Linked DNA regions of Homo sapiens: regions 2 and 3 are each linked to region 1. Evidence: promoter capture Hi-C in human tissues and cell types (Jung and others, 2019). All regions are on one chromosome and are shown on one strand. Each heading gives the region's core, a stretch centred on a gene start or on the middle of the fragment in contact. The rest is flanking DNA. Distances are from core to core; before and after follow the strand shown. Region 1 holds the start of MUC4 (mucin 4, cell surface associated). Region 2 overlaps MUC4 (mucin 4, cell surface associated). Region 3 overlaps TNK2 (tyrosine kinase non receptor 2).

Evidence for each region. The method cuts DNA at HindIII sites, captures the fragments that hold promoters and counts their contacts. A contact is called where the count stands out against the background at its distance.
Region 2: a contact is called between a fragment that was not itself captured here and the fragment with the promoter of MUC4 in region 1, in 1 of the 25 tissues and cell types used here (mesenchymal stem cells).
Region 3: a contact is called between a fragment that was not itself captured here and the fragment with the promoter of MUC4 in region 1, in 4 of the 25 tissues and cell types used here (aorta, lymphoblastoid cells, ovary and 1 more).

The regions. Positions count from the first base shown.
Region 1 is chr3:195,809,886-195,814,100 of GRCh38, reverse strand. MUC4 (mucin 4, cell surface associated) reads left to right here and starts at 2,172. Exons shown (of 25, transcript NM_018406.7): 1 at 2,172-2,365. The coding sequence starts at 2,284. RefSeq lists an enhancer at 3,912-4,215. The HindIII fragment of the contact is 26,053 bases long and covers 1-4,215 here.
Region 2 is chr3:195,757,904-195,762,118 of GRCh38, reverse strand. It overlaps MUC4 (mucin 4, cell surface associated), which reads left to right. Exons shown (of 25, transcript NM_018406.7): 14 at 1-32; 15 at 534-635; 16 at 1,002-1,235; 17 at 2,858-2,995. Among named protein-coding and RNA genes, the nearest start is that of MUC20, 39 kb to the right of the region's middle. The HindIII fragment of the contact is 7,333 bases long and covers 1-4,215 here.
Region 3 is chr3:195,860,797-195,865,011 of GRCh38, reverse strand. TNK2 (tyrosine kinase non receptor 2) reads left to right here. Exons shown (of 16, transcript NM_001382273.1): 16 at 825-1,648. The coding sequence ends at 831. Among named protein-coding and RNA genes, the nearest start is that of LINC01983, 2.5 kb to the right of the region's middle. RefSeq lists an enhancer at 4,174-4,215. The HindIII fragment of the contact is 7,484 bases long and covers 1-4,215 here.

The sequences.
Region 1 (4,215 bases), core at 923-3,422:
TGGGATCAAGCCCAGGTTTGTAACGCCCTCCTGGAGTCTCGGCCGTCACAGCAGCTTCCGGAGAGCGCTGTGTGCCTCTGGCCTTCCTGGCATGGGAAAGAGGTCAGCTACCTGTGTTCGGTCAACAAGATGTCCAGCGCTTAGTTTGGTCTCACCTGGATGCTCCTTTCTCCTCTAGAGATGGAAAACTGTTGTCCTGAAAGCGTCACCAAACAAAACCTGTGGAAAGGTAATGGGGGGACCCACGAGCAAGAGCTGACAGAAAAATGACCACGGGCCGGGTGCAGTGGCTCACGCCTGTAATCCCAGCACTTTGGGAGGCCAAGGCGGGCGGATCATCTGAGTTCAGGGGTTCGAGACCAACCTGGCCAACATGGTGAAACCTCGTCCCTACTAAAAATACAAAAAAAATTAGCCGGGCGTGGTGGCAGGTGCCTGTAGTCCCAGCTACTAGGGAGGCTGAGGCAGGGGAATGGCGTGAACCCGGGAGGCGGAGCTTGCAGTGAGCTGAGATGGTGCCACTGCACTCCAGCCTGGGCGACAGAGCAAGACTCCATCTCAAAAAAAAAAAAAAGTGCAAAATGATCACGAAGGCCAAGCTGGGCCTTGGTGTCTGCGAATTCCCTGCAGTAGGTCCCTCCTGCTGCCCCGTCCAGGCGCCCACAGGATGCTCCACATGACTCTTTACCTTTATGATTTTCTTACCTCCAGGAAAGAACAGGGTCAGCTCGTCCACCCAGAGCTGGAGGGACTGTTGGGGGACCACGCCACTTCCCCACGGTATCCGCATTATTATGGCGTGGCCCAGGCTTTGGCCTGGGGCCATGAACAGACTTTCAGCTTCTAGAAGCAAGTGGTCACAGGGCCTCCGTGACCCTCGGAGACAGCGCCACAGCGTCGGTTGCCTACTCCTTGCTGGACAAGGCTGGCTCTGCTTGGGAATGCAGAAACCCTGAGTCCTTGTCCTGGGCCCCACAGTGTCTGAGCATCGAAGGTCCCTGCTCTGGGACGAGTCACCCCACAGACACCCCACATTCGGGAATCAAGTCTTGAGGAATCAGAAGCAGAGATTCACACTGTGGCAAAGAGGGGAGCGGAGGTATCCCCGTTTTCCTTTGCAGAGAGCTACACCAACTGCCCTCTTCGTCTTTACAACCCTACTTGGGGTCCCTTTCCCTCCTCGCTTGTGCCTGTGAGTTCCAAGAGGTGGAACTGGGGTGAGCAGAGCCCCCAGGTCTCCAGGAGCAGCTCCACCTCCTCACAGGTTACAGTCGCTTCCTCCTACCGAGGTTCTGCCTTCAACCCACTGCCCATGCCAGCTCCCTCAGGCCAGTCTCCCAGACTGTCCCTGGCTCCCTGCACCCTGGCTCCAGCTCCCTGCCCTGGAAAGAAGAAGTCCACCATCTGGTGAGGGTCTGCCACGCATCTGGGGTCTGCCATGCGTCTGCACTGAGGTTCTGCCACGAGTCTGCACTGAGGTTCTGCCATGCGTCTGGAGTCTGCCACGCGTCTGGGGTCTGCCACGCGTCTGGAGTCTGCCATGGGTCTGGGGTCTGCCATGTGTCTGGGATCTGCCGTGCGTCTGGGGTCTGCCACGCATCTGCACTGAGGTTCTGCCACGCGTCTGGGGTCTGCCACGCGTCTGGGGTCTGCCACGCGTCTGGGGTCTGCCACGCGCCTGCACTGAGCAGATATTCCAAGCACACCACCCCTTTCCAAAAGACGGCATACAGTGCATTTCTGTTCCTGCCCCTCACCCACATGGTTCCCCGCTTCCCAATTCCTTGGGGTCTGCTTAAGTCTCACTCTCTTTCCCCCATTCATACAGCCCCAAGGTCGCTCCCTCTGGGGCCCTTTCTTCCCCATTCTTCCCAGCAGCCCAAAGCTCTGGTGGGACAGGGGCAGCCCCTGGGGAGGGAGGAGAGGACCCAGGAACCCGGCTAGGAGGGTGGCCCACCCATTTCCAGTGTGACCTGTTCCCATTCCCCCATGTCTCCTCCCATCCCTCCCGCCACTCAGCTCAGGCTGATGAGAAGCAGAGCAACGGGTGTATCGGTGTTTTCTTTCCTGGTGGGGTAGTGGGGTGGGGCTGAGGAGAGAAAAGGGTGATTAGCGTGGGGCCCCGCCCTCTTTTGTCCTCTTCCCAGGTTCCCTGGCCCCTTCGGAGAAACGCACTTGGTTCGGGCCAGCCGCCTGAGGGGACGGGCTCACGTCTGCTCCTCACACTGCAGCTGCTGGGCCGTGGAGCTTCCCCAGGGAGCCAGGGGGACTTTTGCCGCAGCCATGAAGGGGGCACGCTGGAGGAGGGTCCCCTGGGTGTCCCTGAGCTGCCTGTGTCTCTGCCTCCTTCCGCATGTGGTCCCAGGTAAGTGATGGAGACAGCAGATGAGGCTGGCTGCGGGGAGCACTTGGGGGAGGTGGGAGCTGTCAGAGAAAGAGGTCCGGGGAGACAGAGAGAGAGAGAGAGAGAATAGGGGAAAGGGAGACAGCGAAGAGGAAGAGAAGGGAGAGAAAAAGAGGGAGAGGGAAAGGAGAAAGAGATGAATGGGACAACATGGGGGGAAGGTGGAGAGAGACCCAGAGAGGGAAAGAAGAGGAAGAGAAGAGGGAGAGAGAAAGAAGAGTGGAGGCCGTGCGCGGTGGCTCATGCCTGTAATCCCAGCACTTTCGGAGGCCAAGGCAGGAGATCACCTGAGGTCAGGAGTTCGAGACCAGCCTGGCCGACATGGTGAAACCCCGTCTCTACTAAATATACAAAAATTAGCCGGTCGTGGTGGGCCCCACCTGTAATTCCAGCTACTCAGGAGTCTGAGGCAGGAGAATCACTTGAACCTGGGAGGTGGAGGTTGCAGTGAGCCAAGATCGCGCCACTGCACTCCAGCCTGGGAGAGAGAGCGAGACTCTGTCTCAAAATAAATAAATAAATAAATAAATAAATAAATAAATAAATAAATATAAAATAAAATAAAAAATAAGAAGAGGAGAAAAGTGGGGAAGAGGAGGCATGAACTGGCAGATACGGGACAAGATCTGAGGGGAAAGACAGAGGGAGAATGCTCGAAAGAGAGAGAAAAGAGAACAGAGGGCCAGAGAGCAGCCCGGCGATGTCTGGAAGGATCCATGGTGAGAGCCCAGGCTTACTCGCAGAGAGAAAGACAGGCAGAGCCAGAGCAAGAGGAACAGAGTCAAGGAGAAAGATGTACACCCTTGTGTACAGAGCTGGGGGTAGAGGGGATGCCAGGAAAGCTGGGTGATGGAGACGGAAGAAAACTCATGTAAAGCTGCAGGGTGAGAGGACGAGACAGGTGAGACGCAGACAAACTGAGGACCCTGGGAATGGAGAGAGGAGAAGATCGGGAGACAGCAGCAAGCAAGGGAAGCGACAAGGAGGAGAGGGGCAGGCCGGCCGGGAGGGTGGTGCGGAGGAGGCGGCCAGGGCGCAGAGGGCCGGGAGGTGCTGGCCGTGGGCTTCTTACCTCTGAGCTCGGGTTTAAAAGCCTCCATTTGGGTCACGGCCTTGCCTGGGGCTCGTAGCCCCGGCATTGGCCTTGGGCTCCTCCGTGTACAGAGCTGGGAGGGGAGGGATGCCAGGCCTGTGGGAGATGTTCCCTCGGGGGCCCCCGTCCTCTTCCCCACACTTTCCAGGCTGTCCCTCTGGCTTCAGGACCAAGTTTTATTCTGTGTTTCTGGGTGTCTGAGTCTTTGGGGGAGAGTCTGGGGTCCAGAGTTCAAGCTGGGGTTAGAGTCTCAGCTCCTGCCCTGCCTCTCAGCAGGCTAAGAACAGTCGCCGAGGGAAAATATTTCTTGGGCGCATATTTGAGGAGCTTCCTGGGAGTGAGTCAGAAGGCGAGTGCCGTTTAAAGGCTGCAAGAGAAGCCATGCTGGTGAAGCGGACCCTTCCACCTCGGGATGTTTCAGGACTAGGCTGAGGGCAAAGGAAACTGCCACCACCTCCCTACACCTCCCCACCCTCCAGCACCCCCACCCCACCCTGGCCACACAACCCCGCTCCAGTGCTCATCCCACCGTGAGGACGTGGAGGCCGGAAGGAGCCGCCACACGGCCCTGCCCTGCAGATGTGGTTGAAGGAGTCTCCACGGGAATCATGACTCCCAGAGCGAGGCTGGGGCTTGGGGCGCCGGGGAGGCAGCTTGGATTTAGGAGCCCCAGGGCCAAGTCTTTGCCGTGAACTGTTCTGGCCCCTGTGACCAGGCC
Region 2 (4,215 bases), core at 1-2,500, 51 kb after region 1:
CGAGTACCAGAACCGCACGGAGGGGCTCCTGGGTGAGGGCGGCTCGGACCTGCCTCTGAGGCTCCGCGGAGCCAGCCGGAGCTCGGACCCCCACGCCGGCGGCCCGGGCAGCCCTGCTCGGCCTCCCTTTCTCCGCCTCCTTGGAGCAGAACCCTTGGGGCACAGAGCGGGCCGGGAGCCGAGGGGCTTCTCCAGCCTCCCCCGAGGCTCCCTTCCTGTCCTCCGCCCGCTCTAAGGGAGCATCAGGGGGGGCTGCGGGGAGGCGGGGGGCACAGCCATCCTTTCTCCCTTTCCTCTTGCCTCCCACATCCTCCCGCCCTCCTCCACCGCTGCCCGCGTTTCCTCCCGCCCCTCCCGAAGGCAGACGGGCAGGGTGTGAGGGCCCGTCCTCCCGGCTCCCCTGGAGGCCTGACAGCAGGTGCAAGAGCAGAGGCTGCCAGGCCCTGGCCTCTCCCCACTGCGTCCGCCGGATGCTCCCCAGGAAGGGGACAGCCGCGTGCCCAGGGTGGCCAACCTCCCACTCTGTCCCTCAGGGGTCTGGAATAACAATCCAGAGGACGACTTCAGGATGCCCAATGGCTCCACCATTCCCCCAGGGAGCCCTGAGGAGATGCTTTTCCACTTTGGAATGACCTGTGAGTCTGGGCAGGGTCCTGGGGCAGAGGGGCAGGTGAGGGGAGCCGGTATGTTTATGTCGTCCCCCTCGGCCCTGTAGGAAGCAGACCTCCATCCTCCCTAAGGTCTGAGGAATCTGTGCCCCCCCAGGGCTGTCCCCACCACCACCAGCCCACCTGCCTCTCTCTACCTGGAGGAGAGAATGGGGGACGTGGAGTGTCCTCTCTCACTGCAGCAGGTGTTTCTAGACTCAGAAGCTGGAAACCGCTCTGGCCCTGCACTCCCACCGCCCCGCTCCAAGCCATCTAAAGTGAGGGGTAGAGGTGGACACAGATGGAATAAGGCTGAGTGCCATGCCTGGTACCACCGCGCTCTGTGTGTTACAGGGCAGATCAACGGGACAGGCCTCCTTGGCAAGAGGAATGACCAGCTGCCTTCCAACTTCACCCCTGTTTTCTACTCACAACTGCAAAAAAACAGCTCCTGGGCTGAACATTTGATCTCCAACTGTGACGGAGATAGCTCATGCATCTATGACACCCTGGCCCTGCGCAACGCAAGCATCGGACTTCACACGAGGGAAGTCAGTAAAAACTACGAGCAGGCGAACGCCACCCTCAGTAAGTGGCCCGAGGCCTGGGGAGGCCTTTTCAGAGTCGGGAGCAGATGAGGAGCTGCCCTTGCCTGACCCTGCTTTTCCCTGTGCATCTGCATTCACTGAGCAGATTCTTCCACTCCTGGCATTCCTCTGCTCAAACCCTTCAGAGACTTCCCTGGCTCTCTCCATCCTTGCAGTGGCCTTCGGCCCAGTTCAGCTTCTCAGAGCTCTTCTCCTAGTGCTGGACGCCTTCCCAGCCCCCTCCGTCCATCCTAGCGCTGGATGCCTTCCCAGCCCCCTTCACTCCATACTAGCGCTGGACGCCTTCCCAGCCCCCTCCACTCCATCCTAGCGCTGGACCCCTTCCCAGCCCCCTCCATCCATCCTAGCGCTGGATGCCTTCCCAGCCCCCTCCACTCCATCCTAGCGCTGGACCCCTTCCCAGCTCCCTGCACTCCAGCCCCGCAGGCTCCTCTGTGTTCTTCAAACACGCTAGGTGCGCTCAGCTCCCAGGCTTCACACGTGCTGTTCTCTTGCCTGGAATACCCTTCCTTCCCTGGACAGCCACACGCTTGCCCCTCACCTTCTTTACGTCTTCATTCCAATGTCCCCTCCTTGGTGAGGCCTCTCTTGGCCGCCCTGTCTAAAATGTCACATTCACCCACACTTCATGTTTGCCTTCCCTGCTTTATTTTTTTCTCCTTAGCATTTATAATTACTCAACATATTTTATAATTTTCACAGGTATCTTTTTAATTATTCATTCATGACTGTATCCTCACCACCCAGAACAGTGCCAGCCACTTAGCTCAATAAATGTTTGTTAAATGACTGACTGAATGAATGTGTGAAGCAACTATGAAATGGAAATGGCAGGGCTCCGAGAAACAGACCCGTGAAGAGGTTTCACTCCCTCTCTATTTCTGGACAAATGCAATGTCCCTTTAGATGTGACCCTCCAGGTTTTGTGCGTGTGTGTGTGTGTGTTGACGGAGTTTCGCTCTTGTTGCCCAGGCTGGAGTGCAGTGACGTGATCTCGGCTCGTCGCAACCTCTGCTTCCCGGGTTCAAGCGATTCTTCTGTTTCAGCCTCCTGAATAGCTGAGATTACAGGCACCCGCCACCATGCCTGACTAATTTTGTATTTTTAGTAGAGACAGGGTTTCACCATGTTGGTCAGGCTGGTCGCGAACTCCTGACCTCAGGTTATCCACCGGCCTCGGCCTCCCAAAGTGCTGGGATTACAGACATGAGACACCCAGCACCCTTCAGGTTTTCAGCCCTTTGCCAAAGGTACAACCCTTTGGTCTAAGGGTACAACCCTTTGTAATGGTCCAAACAAATCTGCTCTCTAATTCACTTTTTGTCATACCCAGCATAGCACTGTGTTCAGGAAAGAATCTGAAAGGAGCTCTTTTTGAGGAGGTGGGGGGAGAGAAAGAGGCTAAAGATTTGGCTAGGTGGGCAGTACAGTCCCAGCCTGCTGTGCGTCAGTCGAGAGCAGGTACACAGAATAATTCCTTCTTCCAGAGGTGGGTCACAGTCCTGGGAATGCCTCACACATATTAGAGTTGAGAAAGAGAGGAGGCTGATAAAGCAGGAGACTGTCCTGCCTCGGAACCCCCATTCCCTCTTTGTGTTTCAGATCAGTACCCGCCCTCCATCAATGGTGGTCGTGTGATTGAAGCCTACAAGGGGCAGACCACGCTGATTCAGTACACCAGCAATGCTGAGGATGCCAACTTCACGCTCAGAGACAGCTGCACCGACTTGGAGCTCTTTGGTAGGACTATTTGGCTGGCTGGGGAGAGTGGGGAGGTGGGTAGGGGATGAGGTCAGAGTCAAATTTGGGAAATTCTGCATTGCTACACCCAGCAACACTTGCTGTCACTCTTTCATTTGAATATCCAGGACCGGCATTTCCGAGGAGCGATATCTATAACTCAAATAGGTGCCCCCCAGTAAGTAGTAGTGACGGGCTTACGGCGGTTTGGCCAGATAGCTAGAGTGACTCTGGGCACATAGAACTGATTCAAGGCTGGGCGCGGTGGCTCATGCCTGTCATCCCAGCGCTTTGGGAGGCCGAGGTGGGCGGATCATCTGAGGTCAGGAGTTCGAGACCAGTCTGGCCAACATGGTGAAACCCCGTCTGTACTAAAAATACAAAAAAAAAAAAAAAAGCCAGGCATGGTGGTGCATGCCTGTAATCCCAGCTACTCAGGAGACTGAGGCAGGAGAATCGCTTGAACCCAGGAGGCAGATGTTGCAGTGAGCTGAGATCGCGTCACTGCACTCCAGCCTGGTGACAGAGCGAGACTCTGTCTCAAAAAAAAGATTTGAAGATCATTTAATCTCAATCTGATCATATATAGTCATCTTTAGTCATTATGCATTCACCAAATTATTAGAATAATCAAGTGCAACATTTAAAATGACCAATTTACAACATTTTTATATCTATTAAAGGAAGGCTCTAATGTAGGACAAGATTTAAAGAAATATGAAAAATACTTTCGTTTGGTACCTTTCTTGCTCTTTTTGTCTGGCAACCATGTTTACCTAGCCGTGTCTCTCCTTGTCTGGTTTCCTGGGCTAGGACCCAGTAGAGTGCCATCGCTCCCTCTCCGTAAAGGTGTTAGAGACCCCGAGCCCTACATCCATGATCAGGGCCAAAGGCTCCAAGCACAAGGGACGCTGCTTTCGTCTGTTGCCAGCACTAATTCAAAGGGTCCAAGGGCATCAAAGGGATGCCACTTTCTGTCTGTTGCCAGCACTAATTCTGAGGGTGACTGTTCTTGGCTAAACCAAAGCCCCGGGGGGCATATTTTGCGTTCTCTTTGCCTCTCTGCCTGATGTTCTTTCTCTCTGTGTCTCAGAAGGGACTGCTTTGCCTGCATCCCTTTTGCCCCATGTGCGTCCTCCCAGGTGCGAGACAATGGCACTGAGAGGTTTTCTTCTCCACGGGCCCCACCCCTGAAGGACGATGGTCTGGAAATTACGTTC
Region 3 (4,215 bases), core at 956-3,455, 51 kb before region 1:
CACTCGCTGTCACCTGTCTGTCGCTGTCTCGGGTGGTTCTTACTGATTTGCATCTGGGATGCAGGCACTCCGTGTCACCTGTCTGTCGCTGTCTCGGGTGGTTCTTACTGATTTGCACCCGGGACGCAGGCACTTGCTGTCACCTGTCTGTCACTGTCTCGGGTGTTTCTTACTGATTTGCACCTGGGACGCAGGCACTCCGTGTCACCTGTCTGTCACTGTCTCGGGTGGTTCTTACTGATTTGCACCTGGGACGCAGGCACTCGCTGTCACCTGTCTGTCACTGTCTCGGGTGGTTCTTACTGATTTGCATCTGGGACGCAGGCACTCGCTGTCACCTGTCTGTCACTGTCTCAGGTGGTTCTTACTGATTTGCATCTGGGATGCAGGCACTCCGTGTCACCTGTCTGTCACTGTCTCGGGTGGTTCTTACTGATTTGCATCTAGGATGCAGGCACTCCGTGTCACCTGTCTGTCGCTGTCTGGGGTGGTTCTTACTGATTTGCAGCTGGGATGCAGGCACTCCGTGTCACCTGTCTGTCGCTGTCTCGGGTGGTTCTTACTGATTTGCATCCACATAGGCTTTGGGCTCTATCCCACCTGTCGTCTTCGGATTCTCTAATACGCAGGAGTGCTCTTCTGTTAGTTTACTCATAGTTTATTAAAGTACAGAGAAAAGACATCCAGGATGATAAATTTTACAGTCCTTGCCGGGGACTGCCAGCTTCCAGTGGTGTTGCCTGGCACCAGTGTGACCCCCGGTGCCTGCCCCGCTGAACCTTCTGTAAACTGTTTAACTGTGCTGGTGGTTTCCCATTCTCTAGGCGCTGAGATGCGTCTGGAGAGCCAGAGGGCCTGCCTGAAGGAATCACCTGAGCCTGTCCGTCCACCAGGAGTGGGGAGATGCCCCCATCCAGTCCTGGAGGACCCGCTGCTCCTGCTGCTCCCGGGGATGGAGCAAGGCCAAGGCTGCGGGAGGCTGGGAGCCCTGCCCTGCCCATCCCTCCTGCACCAGCGCTGTCCCTGCACACTTTGGTTCAGTCCCGGTGCCCCTGCCAAGATGTGGAAGGGGCCGGGTGAAGACAGGCTTGAGGGCTGCCCCAGCAGGCTCTGGGTATGACCTGCCTCTGGCCCTGGTCCTGGGCGGGGCCTGTGGGTGGAGTAGTACCCCCAGGCCCTGCCCTGGGTGACAGACTGGGAGGAAACCAGGCTGGACCTGGGCAGGCGGGATGTGTTGGCCACAGGGAGAGGCGGACCGGCACCCGGTGGGACCTCCTAGGACTGGGCCTTCTTCCAGGGGGCCCCTGGCAGCAGCTGGGGTGTCGGGCAGAATGTGACTTGTGGCCTTACCATGGACTTGAATGGGACTTGGCTGGCCTCAGGATCTTGTGCCTGGAAATAGCCTGAGGTGGCTCAGGAAGCGGAGAAAGGGTGCCAGACCATTCTCTGGCGGGGACCAGGGCCCAAGGCCCCAGGGCTGGAAGGAGACCAAGGGGCAGCCGCCCTGGAGGGACATCAGTGCTTCCTCTTCCACCCAATTCCCCCACGCGGTTCCATGTTTTCCCACCAGCCTGTTGGCGAAGTTGCTGCTCCGGCATTCAGTACCTGCTTCTTCCAGAGAAATAAAGTTAGTTTCTATTTTATGTTACTTACTTGTGCCTGCCTGTTTCTTTGCCTGTTAGTCAGCAAGCTCCAGGCCCCAAGCGAGGCTCCCCAGGCCACCAGCATCTGCTCCGGGCAGCAGGCCTTGTAGCACCACCTGGAGGCAGCGGGAGGGCGCGCAGGCCTGGACACCGGGAGGCCTCTTCCCTTACACGGCCGGCAGCGGGGCCAGAGTCCCCGCCGGTCTGGTCAGTGACTTTCACACTGCCTGGATTTCACTTGCCGCGTGGACTTCTGTAAGGCAGGATATATACTGCAGGAGAGAGTACAGCAACCCAGTTAAATAGAACCAAGCCAGAAATGTTAGCAACAAGGAACCCTTCAATATGTTAGGTATTTTAATTGCTTTTCTGAATAACTCATGTTCATACGGTTCAAAATTGAAAAGGCACTGAGGAGTGTACAGTGAAATGACTGGGTATCACCCACCGCGGCCGTCCACTTCCCCAGTGCAGAGACGCCTGTATCACCAGTTTCTTGTGTAGTGCTTGTTTTTGTTTTTACTTAATAATATTTTGAAGAATTCCATAGCAATACTGAACGTGCTTCCCCATTCTTTTTTTTTTTTTTTTTTTTGAGACAGTTTTGCTCTTGTTGCCCAGGCTGGAGTACAGTGGTGCGATCTCTGCTCACTGCAACCTCTGCCTCCCAGGTTCAAGCAATTCTCCTGCCTCAGCCTCTGAGTAGCTGGGATTACAGGCACGTGCCACCACACCCAGCCAATTTTTGTATTTTTAGTAGAGATGGGGTTTCTCCATGTTGGCCAGGCTGGTCTCAAACTCTTGACCTCAGGTGATCCGCCTGCCTCAGCCTCCCGAAGTGCTAGGATTATAGGCATGAGCCACCGCGCCCGGCTGGGCTTCCCCATTCTTTCGGGTTGCGTGGATGCACGGGTGTACCATAACCTACTTAACTGGGTTCCTTTTGATGAAGGGCAATTTTAGTTGCATCCAGTCCTTCGCAATTACAACCATTGCCTCAGTAAATTGTGTATGTGGGCTGTTTTTCACTCGCACGTCAATCTGAAGATGAGTTCCCAGCAGTGGGACTGCTAGGTCAAAGGGCGTGTGCCATGGCGGTGGGTGGTGCTGAACCTGCTCTCAGCGGAGGGACATTCTCAGTTGTCACACCACCTGTGCAAGGGAGCTTTCCATGTGTTAAGGAGTTTTCTGATCTTTGGCAGACTGACTGGTAGAAAATAGTGTTTCTATAGTTTTAATATGCATTTCTCTTACGAATAAACTCAAAAATAAGTTGAGCCATTTGTATTTCCTTTTTAATGAGTTGCCTATTAATATCCTTGGCCCATTACAAAATGTTAGATTATTCATCGGTTTCTTACTGCTTTCCAGGAAATTACTGGATCAATCAAGGAAACTAGCTCTTTGAGCTTCACATATGATCATGTGAACTTTAGGAAAAGAGGTAAATCATAAGAAAGTAAGCTTAATGACTCGGGTTTATTGAAAACAAAACAGAGGCCATTCAGGGTGAGTCTGGGCCACGTGTGTGTCTGGCTGTAGGCTGGCCTTCGTGGGTAGGCCCCGAGGCTCAGAAGTTCTGAGGCCTGGGAGCTTTGCATATGCCGTTTGCAAAGGCAGGAATTCTATTATTTTAACTGTGATTTAAAATACCTAGTCAAATATATCACAAAAGGGAACAAGTTTTTTTTTTTTTTTTTTTTTTTGAGACGGCATCTTGCTCTGTTGCCCAGGCTAGAGTGCAGTGGTGCAATCTCGGCTCACTGCAACCTCTGCCTCCTGGGTTCAAGTGATTCTCCTGCCTCCGCCACCTGAGTAGCTGGGACCACAGGCGCACACCACCACACCCGACTAATTTTTGGATTTTTAATTTTTGGATTTTTAGTAGAGATGGGGTTTCACCATACTGGTCAGCCTGGTCTTGAACTCCTGACCTCATGATCCGCCCGCCTCGGCCTCCCAAAGTGCTGGGATTACAGGCGTGAGCCACCGCATCCAGCCAGAACAAGTTCATATTAAGTGAGTGTTGAGCATTGCTGTTAGACCTGGATTTCATTCCTAGCTCTGTTTCGTCTTAGAAATGTTATTTCACCTTTCTGAGTCTGTAAACTGATGGAGTAATTCCTGCCTTATAGAAGGGTTGTGAGGACTGACTGAGGTTGTGAAGGTGAAACATTTTGCTTAGAGTATGGGCCACAGTCAGTTCCCACCAAACAGTAGTTATTATAAATGTTATTTCCCCGTGTTCCTGCCTGTTTCTATTAATCAATAGCTCACATTATACACTGACCACACTCTGCGCATAGAATTGTGTTTTACTTTTCTCATTTTCCTTCTGTTTCAGAAAGTTTATTCTTTTGCTCACAATTATCCTATTTATAGATCATAGGTGTTTTTACTTCATTTTAAAAAACACATCAATTTTTTGTAAGCAATCCAGATGTGTGTATGCTTTACAAGCATTTAAAAATCTGTTTCAGAGCCAACACATCCAGAAAGATTTTTGCAGGGGGCAGAGGATGTCAAAGCAGCTCGAGGTTTCTCAGGGGAGCAGGGAACCCAGTGTACTTTT